Regions from separate parts of the Homo sapiens genome. Here region 2 is linked to region 1. The links are contacts of gene promoters, found by promoter capture Hi-C in blood cells and fetal thymus (Javierre and others, 2016). All regions are on one chromosome and are shown on one strand. The core of a region is centred on a gene start or on the middle of the fragment in contact, and the rest is flanking DNA. Distances in the headings are between cores, read along the strand shown. Region 1 holds the start of RTKN (rhotekin). Region 2 overlaps STAMBP (STAM binding protein).

Evidence for each region. Contacts are between HindIII fragments. The CHiCAGO score rates a contact against its expected background, and 5 or more counts as called.
Region 2: a contact is called between a fragment that was not itself captured here and the fragment with the promoter of RTKN in region 1, in 2 of 17 cell types (naive CD8 T cells and naive CD4 T cells). The highest score is 5.5, in naive CD8 T cells.

What each region holds. Positions count from the first base shown.
Region 1 is chr2:74,439,899-74,447,520 of GRCh38, forward strand. It overlaps RTKN (rhotekin), which reads right to left and starts at 2,039. Exons shown (of 12, transcript NM_001015055.2): 1 at 1,808-2,039. The coding sequence starts at 1,918. RefSeq lists an enhancer at 1-227 and silencers at 655-964, 1,680-1,739, 2,050-2,129. The HindIII fragment of the contact is 8,784 bases long and covers 1-4,508 here.
Region 2 is chr2:73,845,496-73,850,265 of GRCh38, forward strand. STAMBP (STAM binding protein) reads left to right here. Exons shown (of 10, transcript NM_213622.4): 5 at 1,892-2,258; 6 at 3,868-3,992. All of the region lies in intron 1 of LOC112268419 (a long non-coding RNA gene), which reads right to left. Among named protein-coding and RNA genes, the nearest start is that of STAMBP, 19 kb to the left of the region's middle. The HindIII fragment of the contact is 1,702 bases long and covers 657-2,358 here.

The DNA.
Region 1 (7,622 bases), core at 789-3,288:
CCAGGAGGAAAGGCCAGCTGCAGAGGGGGCTCTAGGCACAGAGTGTCCAGTCTCGCTTTGGTGGCAGCTGTTCTCCCAGCTGTGGAAGAAAAAGGCCCTTTCATTCCGACTCTGGCCGCTCCCCAGCCCCCGCCCACATCCCTGGCCTGGTGGACAGGGAATCTGTGTGCGGAGAGGGCAGTGAGGGGCAGGCACAACTGGAAGGGGGCAGGGAAACGACGCCTCATGCAGGTTCTAGAGTCATGGGGTTTGCAGGAGGTTGGAGCTTCCCGAGAGGGGTTCCAGCTTAGTTTGAGAAAGTTGGGAAAAAGAGCCACACAGGTGAGGACCTCAGGGGAGAGTGAGCCCAGGGAATGGGACAAAGGGGTGAGTTGGCAAAGCAGCCCAGCCCTAGGGCCACCCCTTCCAACTCAGGGCCCCCATCCAGCCCGCTCCACCCTGGGCTCACAATTACCTCGCTTTTCCAGAGAAGGGAGGAGAGGGAGAGAGGAAGGCAGGGGTGTGCCTGTCTGCTGCTGTCCCCGCTCCCTTCTGCAGGCCCCTTCCCTTCCAGACAGGAAACCAGCCCCGATTCCGAGCCAGCTGCAGCCTAGCGCCCCCGCCTCCACGCCAGGCCCACGGAGTCACACTTCACTCGGCGGCCGCCAGGCCCTGCGGCTCCGCCCCAGCTCCTCCGAGCTGTCCCCGAAGGCCGGGCTAATCCCAGGGGCGGCCCCAGCTCACAGGCCCCTCCCCCTGGTCCCGGGCCTCGCCCCTTACTCCCCCACGCTGGCCCCACGCGGGTTCCTCGGGCCCAGTCGCTTGGGGGCAAGGGGACGCGACAAAGGCCCCCTCTCCCCAGGTCCACTAGCTTCTGAGTCAGAGAAGGCCCGGGACGCCGGGACAAGGGTGTGAAAGAGCCTCTTTGTTCTGGGCAGGCTGGAGGGAAAGGGCAGAAGCCAGGCCTGGAATCCCAGCCGGGAGGTAGAGGGGGCGGAAGGAAGGCCCACCTCACTTAACCCTTTCCAGACCCGGAAGGGAAGGCTTGGAACTGGGCTCTCCTTGGGCGAGTGTGAGTCTGACCTTGGGGACAGAAGAGTCTTCGGGGTAGCTATTCGCCCTCTCAGTCCCCGCTCAACCACACACCTTCAGCCCCGCCCTAGCCCTTAGGGCGTTACAGGTGGGGATCCAACAGGTTAACGCGTGGACGGCGGACGGGGGAAACGCTCAGCCTAGGGGCTGGACTCCTCTTAGGCCCCAGAAAAGGAGGCGGAAATTTTGCGTGTGGGAAGTAACCCCAAGGAGTTAAAAGCCCTGCAGGGGCATAGAGGAGCCTTTGAATTGGGCTTCGGGGAAGCGAGCGGCCCCGGCCTAAAGTCGGGGTTGATGACAGAGGCTGGCCCAGATGGCTGCGACAGGTTGTGGGATGGGGCTGGCGACTGGGGAACAAGCGGGAGCCCAGGCCAAGAGTCCGAGCGCTTGGGGCCCGCCTAGCTGCCCACCGCCCTTGGCCCGGGGATGCCCAAGACATTTTGGGGTTCAGGCACATTTTAGGAGTCGAGCTGGGGCCCTACAAATTGAGACCAACCCGGGCTTTTTCCAGGCTCAGGCAGATAATCCTAACCAGGCCGCGGAATGGGCAGCATGGATCCGATGAAAATGCAGACCGTCCACACCTTACTTTTTAAGTCAACAACTCCGTCGGGTTTGTACCCAGACCGTGCGTCTCCGCCCCTCGGCGTGCACGCGGGCGAGGGAAGGAGGCCGAGGTGGCTGGGGCTGCCCCCGGGAGCCGCGGAAGGGGAAGGCAGGGACGCGAGTCTCTCACCTCGGGCAGGTCGCTGAAGAGGCTGAGTCGGAAGCGGCCGCGTTTGAACTCCATCTCCAGGGCGGAGCCCCTGGCCACGGTGACCCGGCTCCGGTGGTTTCGGGAGAACATGCTGGCGGCCCTGCGACTTTGCCTGCTCAGTGCGCTCCCCGCGCCGCCCGGCTTAGCCTCCTCTCCTCGGCTTCTGTCTCTCGACGCTCGTCCGCCAGTCCGGCCGGGAATCTCCCGCTGCGGGGCTCCAAACCCCGCCCCCGGAGACGACACCTGGGCCGGGCAGGGCGCGGCAACCTCCTCTTCCACCCCCGCCAAAGGCCCAGCCCGTCCGGCCAGTCCCTGGGCGCCAAGCCGACCTGGCCCGACGGCCCCGGAGCCCCCAGGGGCGCACTGCACCTCGCGAGCACTGTGGGAGCGCGTTCTCCCTGCCCGCGCGGGTCGCGAGCGCCTACCTGGACTTGGGACGGACCGAGAAGCCCTGCCCCGCCAGCCGCCCCAACCTGGCAAGCCTGGCTTCCCGGGCGCTGAAAACCCCGTGGCTCAGGGATCGCCGCGTAGCACGCTCTGGCTCTACTCGGGCCCTGGGACCTTGCCCAGTTTCAATCCCGGCAGCCTCCGAAGAGACCATTTCAACATCCCACAGTCCCAAATGTTCCTTCTTCGTCCCCCTCCCCACCTAGGCTCCTCTGCGAGGCTATCCGCCTAAGCCTAGTGGCCACAACTGATGGGGCGGTGCTTAAACACGTCGTGAAACCCCAGCTCTGTCACTAACTAACCGTGCAATCATTAACTTGGTCCAGTCACTGGCCTTTCTGAGCTTCAGTTTTCTCATTTGTTCAGTGGGAATACTGTAATTATCTCCACTCCTCAAGTTGCTATGAGGATTACCTATAAGAATGAGGGTAAAATGCCCAGCATAGTGCCTGGCACAAGGCAAGTGCCCCATATTTGCAGTCATAAAGAGCAGCTGCGCGCGGTGGCTCACGCCTGTAATCGCAGCACTTTGGGAGGCCTAGGAGGGTGGATCACCTGAGGTTGGGAGTTCGAGACCAGCCTGACCAACATGGAGAAACCCCATCTCTACTAAAAATACAAAATTTAGCCGGCCATGGTGGCACATGCCGGTAATCCCAACTACTTGAGAGGCTGAGGCAGGAGAATCGCTTAAACCCGGGAAGCAGAGGTTGTGGTGAGCTGAGACCCCACCATTGCACTCCACCCTTGGAAACAAGAGCGAAACTACGTCTAAAAAAAAGATGGCTGGGTGCAGTGGCTCAAGCCTGTAATCCTAGCACTTTGGGAGGCCAAGGGGGACTGATCGCTCTTGAGCTCAGGAGTTGGAGACCAGCCTGGGCAACATGAAACCCTGTCTCAACAAAACACACACACACACGCACACACACACACAAATTGGCCTGGCATGGTGGTGCACACCTGTAGTCCCAGCTACTCGGGAGGCTAAGGTGGGAGGATTGCTTGAGCCCGAAAGTTCAAGTCCAGCCTGGGCAACATAGTGGGACCCCATCTCTTAAAAAGCATTACAAATATGTATAATTTTTTATTTTTATTTATTTATTTATTTATTTATTTTAATTTTTTTTTTTTAAGACAGAGTCTCACTCTGTCACCCAGGCTGGAGTGCAATGGCATGATCTCGACTCACTGCAACCTCTGCCTCCTGGGTTCAATCGATTCTCCTGCCTCAGCCTCCGGAGTAGCTGGGATTACAGGCGTCTGCCACCATATCTGGCTAATTTTTGTATTTTTAGTAGAGATGGGGTTACACCATGTTGGTAAGGCTGGTCTCAAACTCTTGACCTCAGGCGATACACCCGCCTTGGTCTCCCAAAGTGCTGGGATTTCAGGCGTGGCCCACGCCTGGCCAATATTATCTATCTATAGATAGATATAGATATAGATAGATATAGATATAGATATAGATATAGATATAGATATAGATATAGATATAGATATAGATATAGATAGATATAGATATAATCAGCTGCTTTGCTGGATGGCTGGACTTGCCCGGCTGGACTTACCACTCCCTGCTTCCATAAAAACAGGGTTCCCGCTAGGCGCGGTGGCTCACGCCTGTAATCCCAGCACTTTGGGAGACCAAGGGGGGCAGATCACGAGGTCAGGAGATCGAAACCATCCTGGCTAACACGGTGAAAACCCGTCTCTACTAAATATACAAAAAAATTAGCCGGGCATGGTGGCGGGCGCCTGTAGTCCCAGCTACTCAGGAGGCTGAGGCAGGAGAATGCCCTGAACCTGGGAGGCGGAGCTTGCACTGAGCCGAGATCGTGCCACTGCACTCCAGCCTGGGCGACAGAGCGAGACTCTGTCTCAAACAAACAAACAAACAAACAAAAAACAGGGTTCCCTTCTTGCCCCCTCTGGGGAAAGCCCAGTGGAAGAGAAGGAAATGGCAAAGGATTAACTTGCTGATCACACATAAACAGATCTCCTGAAGGCTTCAGAACACAGAACTTGAGAAAGGGTGAGACTCCTACATGGCAGGCTGGCTGGACCCAGAGACATACCAGTCTTGAGCTCTTAGAGAGTCCAGATTAGAAATGTTTTGCTATGGCAAATCATTTCAACATTCTTTTGGAAAAGCTGACTGAAAAGTACTAAAGCAAAAGGGGAAATGCATCGGCTCCTGGAACTGAGCCAATACAAACAAATGAGCCAGGGGTCAAGCTTTAGATGTGGCTTAACCCACTCATTGAGTGTCAGGAATATCCAGTCTCTTCCCATCACTTGGCTCTACTTTCCTCCACGTTGGCTTCACTCTCCACAGTGTAACGAAATTGCTGCCCAAAATTCTGGGTCTATATCTTTTCAGGCTTAAATTCAGCTGAAAAGAGAGCATCTGTTTCCTGAGGCTCCTACACGTCTGGGATTCGCTGTGAGACATTTGTGATCATTCATCCATCCCAAACCAATCATTGGAGTCAGACGGTGGCCAGATCTGAACCAATTGCTGTGGCTAAGGAGGTTCTAGGTGCCAGCTGGCCAGGCTTGGGGTCACTTGCCCACTCCTGGAGACTAACCAGAACCCAGTGAACTGGGAGGGAGAAGGTGGGGGAGGGTTGTTCCCCAAAGAATGTTCCAACCACTACCACCAGAAGGTGAGAGAATGGAAAATGAACAGGAAAAACAACCAACATCCTCCACACACAAAATTTTATATGGAGAAGGGAGTTCTTCTGGTCAGTAGGAAAGGCAGATCAAAAGATTTATAAAGTCCATGGCATCTGAGATTAACCACAAAAGACGTGTGAGGGGAAAGAAAGGGAAAGATATTGTTCCTTAATTTATTCAAATATTCATCATCACTCCTCTGAACTGTAAGCCTTCTAGGGAGGGGCAGTCTGTCTTATCCCCAGTGCCTGGGACATAGCAAGTGATCAATAAACATCAGTTGAAGTAAATAAAAGAGAAGCAAACAGATTTGAGAGTCCTTGACTGAGATGTGCCATCCTGTTGGACTAAGATAGTTCATTTCAAATGTTTGTTTTTAAGCAACAGAACCTTTTTTTTTTAATGAAATCTTACCTGAAATGTGTGAAATCAAATCAGAGCTGCTATGATGGGAGCAGGTGCTAGAGCCTCATGCCTTGTCTACCCACAGGTGCTCAGCTGCTCCCTGCTCCCCCAGTGAACACAAGCTCTGTGGACGGGTTTGAAAACCCCTGGCCTGAGACCCAGGAAGGAGGCAGAGGAATGGAGGATCTTCAAAAAGGAGGTTGAGCTCAAATCCTGCCTGAGAGTTTGTACTCAATGTGGCTGAAGATTTTTGGGAAGGAGGGACATGATCAGGATTATATTATATTATATTATATATATATATTTATATAATATATATCACTCTGTTACCCAGCTAGAGCAAAGTGGTGCCATGATAATACACTGCAGCCTTGAACTCCTGGGCTCAAGCAATCCTCCTGTCTCAGCCTCCTGAGTAGCTAGGACTAAAGGCGTGCACCACCATGCGAGGCTAATTTTTAAATTTTTTTGTAGAGACAGCATCGTACAGGCTAGTCTTGAACTCCTGGCCTTAAGTGATCCTCCTGCCTCAGCCTCCCAAAGTTCTGGGATTACAGGCGTGACCACTGTTCCTCCTCCCAGAATTAACTTTAGAGATCGTAATTTGGCAGCCTTTTCCATTAGTCAGTTGGAGGAGTTGTGACTGGAGTCAGGGAAGCCAACTAACACTGCACTCAACTGAGGGAGGAGAGATAAGGGTCAAAATTTCTATGGATTTATGTATGTATGTATGCATGCATTTATTTTTATTTTTATTTTTATTTTTGAGATGGAGTCTAGCTCTATCACCCAGGCTGGAGTGCAGTGGCGCAATCTCGGCTCACTGCAACCTCTGCCTCCCAGGTTCATGCGATTCTCCTGCCTCCGCCTCCTGAGTAGCTGGGATTACAGGCGCCCACCACCACGCCTGGCTAATTTTTGTATTTTTAGTACAGATGGGGTTTCACCATGTTGTTCAATCTGGTCTCGAACTCCTGACCTCGTGATCTGCCCGCCTCAGCCTCCCAAAGTGCTAGGATTACAGGCATGAGCCACCGCGCCAGGCCAGACTTATTTTTTAAATTAAATTTCATTTGAAAAATATTTGAAAGTACGTGTACAGTTTTCTAAACACTATAAATGCCACTGTTTTTTAAATAATGTAAATAATGAAAAAAATGAATAAAAGTATGCCTTCCCCACCCTCAATTATTCCACTTCCAGAAGAAAACACTGAGACAGTTTGGTGCATTCAAGTGCTGAAGCTCACACCAGCGGTTCGTGTTGATGACTTTTCTGGAATTGGGCATGCCAGTTGCTAAACATTGCCTTAATTAAAAATTAAATTACGGGCTGGGCACAGCGGCTCACGCCTGCAATCCCAGCACTTTGGGAGGCCAAGGCGGGTGGATCACGAGGTCAGGAGTTTGACACCAGCCTGACCAACATAGTGAAACTCTGTCTCTACCAAAAATACAAAAATCAGCTGGGCGCTACTTAGGAGGCTGAGGCAGGAGAATTGCTTGAACCCGGGAGGCAGAGGTTACAGTGGGCCGAGATCAGGTCACTGCACTCCAGCCTGGGGGACAAAGCGAGTCTCCGTTTCAAAACAAAACAAAATTAAATTAAGGCTGGGCATGGTGGCTTACACCTGTAATCCCAGCAGTTTGGGAGGCTGAGGCAGTGGATCACCTGAGGTCAGGAGTTCAAGACCAGCCTGGCCAACATGGTGAAACCCTGTCTCTACTAAAAATACAAAATTAGCCGGTGTGGTGGCACATGCCTGTAATCCCAGCTACTCGGGAGGCTGAGGCAGAAGAATCTCTTGAACCCGGGAGGCAGAGGTTGCAGTGAGCCGAGATCTCACCATTGCACTCTAGCCTGGGCAACAAGAGTGAAACACTATCTCCAAAAAAAAAAATTAAATTAAATTACATAAACATATAACTAAATCAATTTTATTAAAGCAAAGGTGACAAATATTCAAAACTCATCACTTCCTAATTATTTTACTGCATTTTACGACGACGTCTTGAGTAGTTTACATCTTTAGTATCTGTATGGAGGGAATGCTATATAAATGACATGACAATGCACATCTCTTTCCAACTCTGTATTCAGTGATGTCTCATTTGAAATTGGCCATGGTGGGAGTCCTTACACAACAGAAATAGGTGAACATAACAAATCCAGCCTGGTTTTTTTCCCCCCTGGGGAGCTTTTGTTAAACATTTACCAACATGCCACTGGTTTGGTGCACAGTCTTCCCAACTTTATCTTTTTG
Region 2 (4,770 bases), core at 258-2,757, 590 kb before region 1:
CTGCTATGTCTAGAGTGAGAATCATAAGAACAATGAACATTCTCTCCAAAACATAGGTTTTTAGATCAGAGAATTTGAGGGTTGGATTCACATTTGGTTATACCTGAAGCTATTTATAAGAATTGACTTTTCAAGCTATTTTTTTTTTTTTTTTTTGAGACAGTCTCACTCTGTCGCCTAGGCTGGAGTGCAGTGGCACGATCTCAGCTCACTGCAACCTCTGCCTCCCCGACTCAAGTGATTCTCCTACCTCAGCCTCCCGAGTGACTGGGACTACAGGCATCCGCCACCATACCCGGCTAATTTTTGTATTTTTAGTAGAGATGGGGTTTCACCATGTTGGCCAAGATGGTCTCAAACTCCTGACCTCAAGTGATCCGCCTGCCTCGGCCTTCCAAAGTGCTGGGATTACAGGCGTGAGCCGCTGCACCCAGCCATTTCAAGCTATTTTCAAATGATTCTTTTTAGGAAGTCAGTTAAAACATGTGGAGAAACTGCCAGGGCGCTGTCAGTGGCCAGCTGTGAATACATACTGCAGCCACTCACAGGCTGTTGTGTAGCTGTCTGCTGGTCTCTATTCTGGACTCTGATGTTGAAAATCAGCAGAGGGATGAACAGCTATGAGGTATATACTTCTAAAGCACCAAGTGAGTGTAAGCTTTAAGGAGGAGGTTATTACTTAGCATTTCTTTCTTTCTTTTTTTTTTTAATCCAAATGCCTCTCAAGTATTTCTTATTAGCTTAAAATGTCACTCTGTGTTGAACAAATGCACAAAAACCATAAAAATTTCAGAGGCCTCATTTTGGGTTAAAATTCAGTAGAAGGCAAGACGTGGTGGCTCATGCCTGTAATCCTAGCACTTTGGGAGCCTGAAGTGGGTGATCGCTTGAGCCCAGGAGTTCGAGACCAGCCTGGGCAACATGGTGAAACCCCATCTCTACAAAAAATACAAAAATTAGCTGGGTCTCTACAAAAAATACAAAAATTAGTGTGGTGGCACGCACCTCTGGTTTCAGCTACTCGGGAGGCTGAGATGGGAGGATCACCTGCGCCCAGGGAGATTGAGGCTGCAGTGAGCCATGATTGACCACTACAGTCCAGCCTAGGTGACAGAGTGAGACTCTCTAAGAAAAAAAAAAAAAATTCAGTAGAGACCCCCAAGATAGCAGGTATAAGTTTGGATCTGGTTCTATTTTATAGCCTTACTTGAAATATAGAATATGTACATGACACAGAGAGAAGAATAAAACTGTCTGTGATACAGGTTAGGAGAACACAGATAGTAAGTTGCATCAAGATTTCAGGCCAGACATTGTGGCTCACACCTGGAATCCCAGCGCTTCGGGAGGCCGAGGTGGGCAGATTGTTTGAGCCCAGGAGTTCAAGACTAGCCTGGGCAACATGGCGAAACCCTGTCTCTACAAAAAATACAAAAATTAGCCAGGTGTGGTGGTGCACACCTGTGGTCCCACCTACTCAGGAGGCTAAGGTGGGAGGATTGCTTGAGCCTGGGAGGTCAAGGCTGCAGTGAGCTGTGATCATGCCATTGCACTTCAGCCTGGGAAACAGAATGAGACCCTGTCTCAAAAAAAAAAAAAAAAAGATTTCAGTGAAGAGGAAAGTGCATTAGGTAGAGTCATTGTCGGGAGGGTATTGAGAGGATTGGGATTTTAATTGTCCTTGGAGATAGGTATACTGTGGCCAGATAGAAAGGGGTGGTGACTACACTCCGTGGGTATAAAGATACTGAGGAAAGCATGAATTCTGTGTTAGGTAATCAGGCCACAGCAGAAGTACATTTTGGAAATCTCCATGCTAAAAAGCCTTGTTCTCCTGAAGTGTGAAGTCACTGAGGTGTGAAGTGTTAGCCTAAATTTTCTCTCTTTGTAGAAGAAGGAAGCAGAGGAATTGGCCCGGAACATGGCCATCCAGCAAGAGCTGGAAAAGGAAAAACAGAGGGTAGCACAACAGAAGCAGCAGCAATTGGAACAGGAACAGTTCCATGCCTTCGAGGAGATGATCCGGAACCAGGAGCTAGAAAAAGAGCGACTGAAAATTGTACAGGAGTTTGGGAAGGTAGACCCTGGCCTAGGTGGCCCGCTAGTGCCTGACTTGGAGAAGCCCTCCTTAGATGTGTTCCCCACCTTAACAGTCTCATCCATACAGCCTTCAGACTGTCACACAACTGTAAGGCCAGCTAAGCCACCTGTGGTGGACAGGTCCTTGAAACCTGGAGCACTGAGCAACTCAGAAAGTAGTAAGTGCATTTGCTGATGTCCTCTTCCTTCTCAGTTGCAGCCAAACAGTATCATTCTGACGGGGTCAACCTAAGATTACCTCCCTGATCCCACTCATTAAGCTTTGGTCACAGAAACCCATCTGATAAGTATTGCTGTACTGTGTCCTAATACACTGGCTATGTTATAAAAGTGGCCTTTGCTGAAACCTAGTCTGGTCGATTTTCTGAAGAGCTAATATTATTCTTGAAAGTCAGACTGTCAACTTTTTAGTGAAAGGAAAAGAATGTGCCAAACCGAATTCATAATCCTCAGATAACATCATCAGACTGCTGTGTGACTCTGTGTCCCCTGCTCTGACTTTGTTACCTCTCTAGCAATTCAGATCTTGCTGTTGAATACGCAAAAGCAGAACATCTTTCCCCTCCCACTTTTTTTTTTTAAATATGAAAATATAGCTGTGAGAGACACTTCCTAACTTTAGCTTGCTGGCTGTCTCACAGAGTTTCTCCATGGTGTTCAGAAACTGGGTCCATTCTTGGCATTTTTTATGAGCTGCTTTGTTCATGCCTTTTTTGGGGGACTACACTGTATTTTTTATTTTGTTGTGGTTTGGCATTTAACTTCTTCCAGAAGAGTAAGTTCAGAAGTAAATAACTGCCCAGATTGTTTTCCATTCTCAAGAATATACACCAGTGTATTTCTTTTAAAGTCATACTCTGATATTCTTATCTGAGATAAAAGAGATTTAAAATTAAAAGTTCAGATGAATGGGCAGTGTCTTAGTCCATTTTGTGCTGCTATAACAGAATACCTGAGGCTGGATAATTTATAATGAACATAAATTTATTTGGTTCATAGTTCTGGAGAGTGGAAAGTCCAAGACCCAGGGGCCTGGCAAAGGCCTTCTTGCTGCGTCATCCCACGACAGAAGGGTGGAAGGGCAAACAAAGATCCCTCATAGCCTCATCACCTCTTAAAGATCCTACCTCTCAATAATTTTGCATTAGGAATTAAGTTTCCAAAACATGAACTTTGGGAGACACAGTCAAACCACAGCAGGGAGGTTATTTTTTTAATTCTTTGTATTAGATTCTGACAGAAAATTCCCAAATGTTTCAAGAACTTGTGTCTTTTTCCCCCCTAAATTTTATTTTTTACTTTTATTTTTTAAGTTTTTGTGGGTACATAGTAGGTGTATGTATTTATGGGGTACATGAGATGTTTTGATACAGGCATGCAATATGAAATAAGCACATCATGGAGAATAGGGTATCCATCCCCTCAAGTATTTATCCTTTGAGTTACAAACAATCCAATTACATTCTTAAGGTTATTTTTAAGAAAACTTTTCTTAAGGTAGTAGTTTGCCCTTTTCTTAACTTGAATAATTAAAGCCTACTATTTTCTCTTCTTGAAGTAATGTGCTCCTTACAGCTGTGGCCCAAGATTGGAGAAGACACTTTACAGCCCTTTTTTTGGTGCCATTAGAATGAGATCCCTACTCACTGCCTGAAGTTGGGGGAATCCCAGTGGCTTAATGTTGCTCCTCCAGGGCTGCTGGCTGTGAGGTCTGCTTGAGGAGGCAGGGCTCAGTGGTCGCAGACTATTCTCCTTTCTCCTTTACAGTTCCCACAATCGATGGATTGCGCCATGTGGTGGTGCCTGGGCGGCTGTGCCCACAGTTTCTCCAGTTAGCCAGTGCCAACACTGCCCGGGGAGTGGAGACATGTGGAATTCTCTGTGGAAAACTGGTAAAAAGAAAAAAAAAACCAAACTCTTCTCTGAACCGAAACTGTTTCTTCCCCTCTTGGCATCCTGTGACTCTCAGAGAAAATATCCAGGGTCAGTTACTCTTTGTACCAAGGAACCGTGGACTGCATAATTTCATGTCACTTTGAATTTGGTGACCCTGTATTGATTGATTGAATTGAAGTGGTTATTTTAATGCTAGTAGTAAGAAATACCTAATTTTAAACTTGGTAGGAAGATCCAGTCATTATCTACATATCAATTTTTTTGGTACCTACTTTATGGTAGGACCTGGGAATATAAAATATGTAAAGCACATAGTATGTGTCCACGAAAAGTGCCCAGTCACTTTGGAGAGAAGGCAGACATGCACTAAAGTCTAACCAGCATGCTGAAAAATATGTACAGTATAAGTATTGGGAATTTTGAGGAAGGAAAGGTCACTGAATGGAGGCACTTAAAGAACCCATTACTGCTGAATGAATAAATAAATGAAGTAGAGTAAATGTAAGCCGAGGCTTACAGGATGAGAAGGGCTTAAGGAAACAGTGACAGGACAACAACTTTAGACCTGAGCAAGGGAAGAGAAATGGTACTCTACCCAGAGCTTCTCAGCAGAGCAGTTTGGCACAGCAGGAAATTCCCTCAGGGCTGTGGTGTTTGCCCAGGCTGCAGAGTTCTGGGGTTGGTCTCTGCATCTGTCGCTGTACAGAGTACCCCAGGCAATGTGCATCAGCAGCCAAGGTTGTGAACCACTGAGTGGCAGGACTCCTGCTGTGT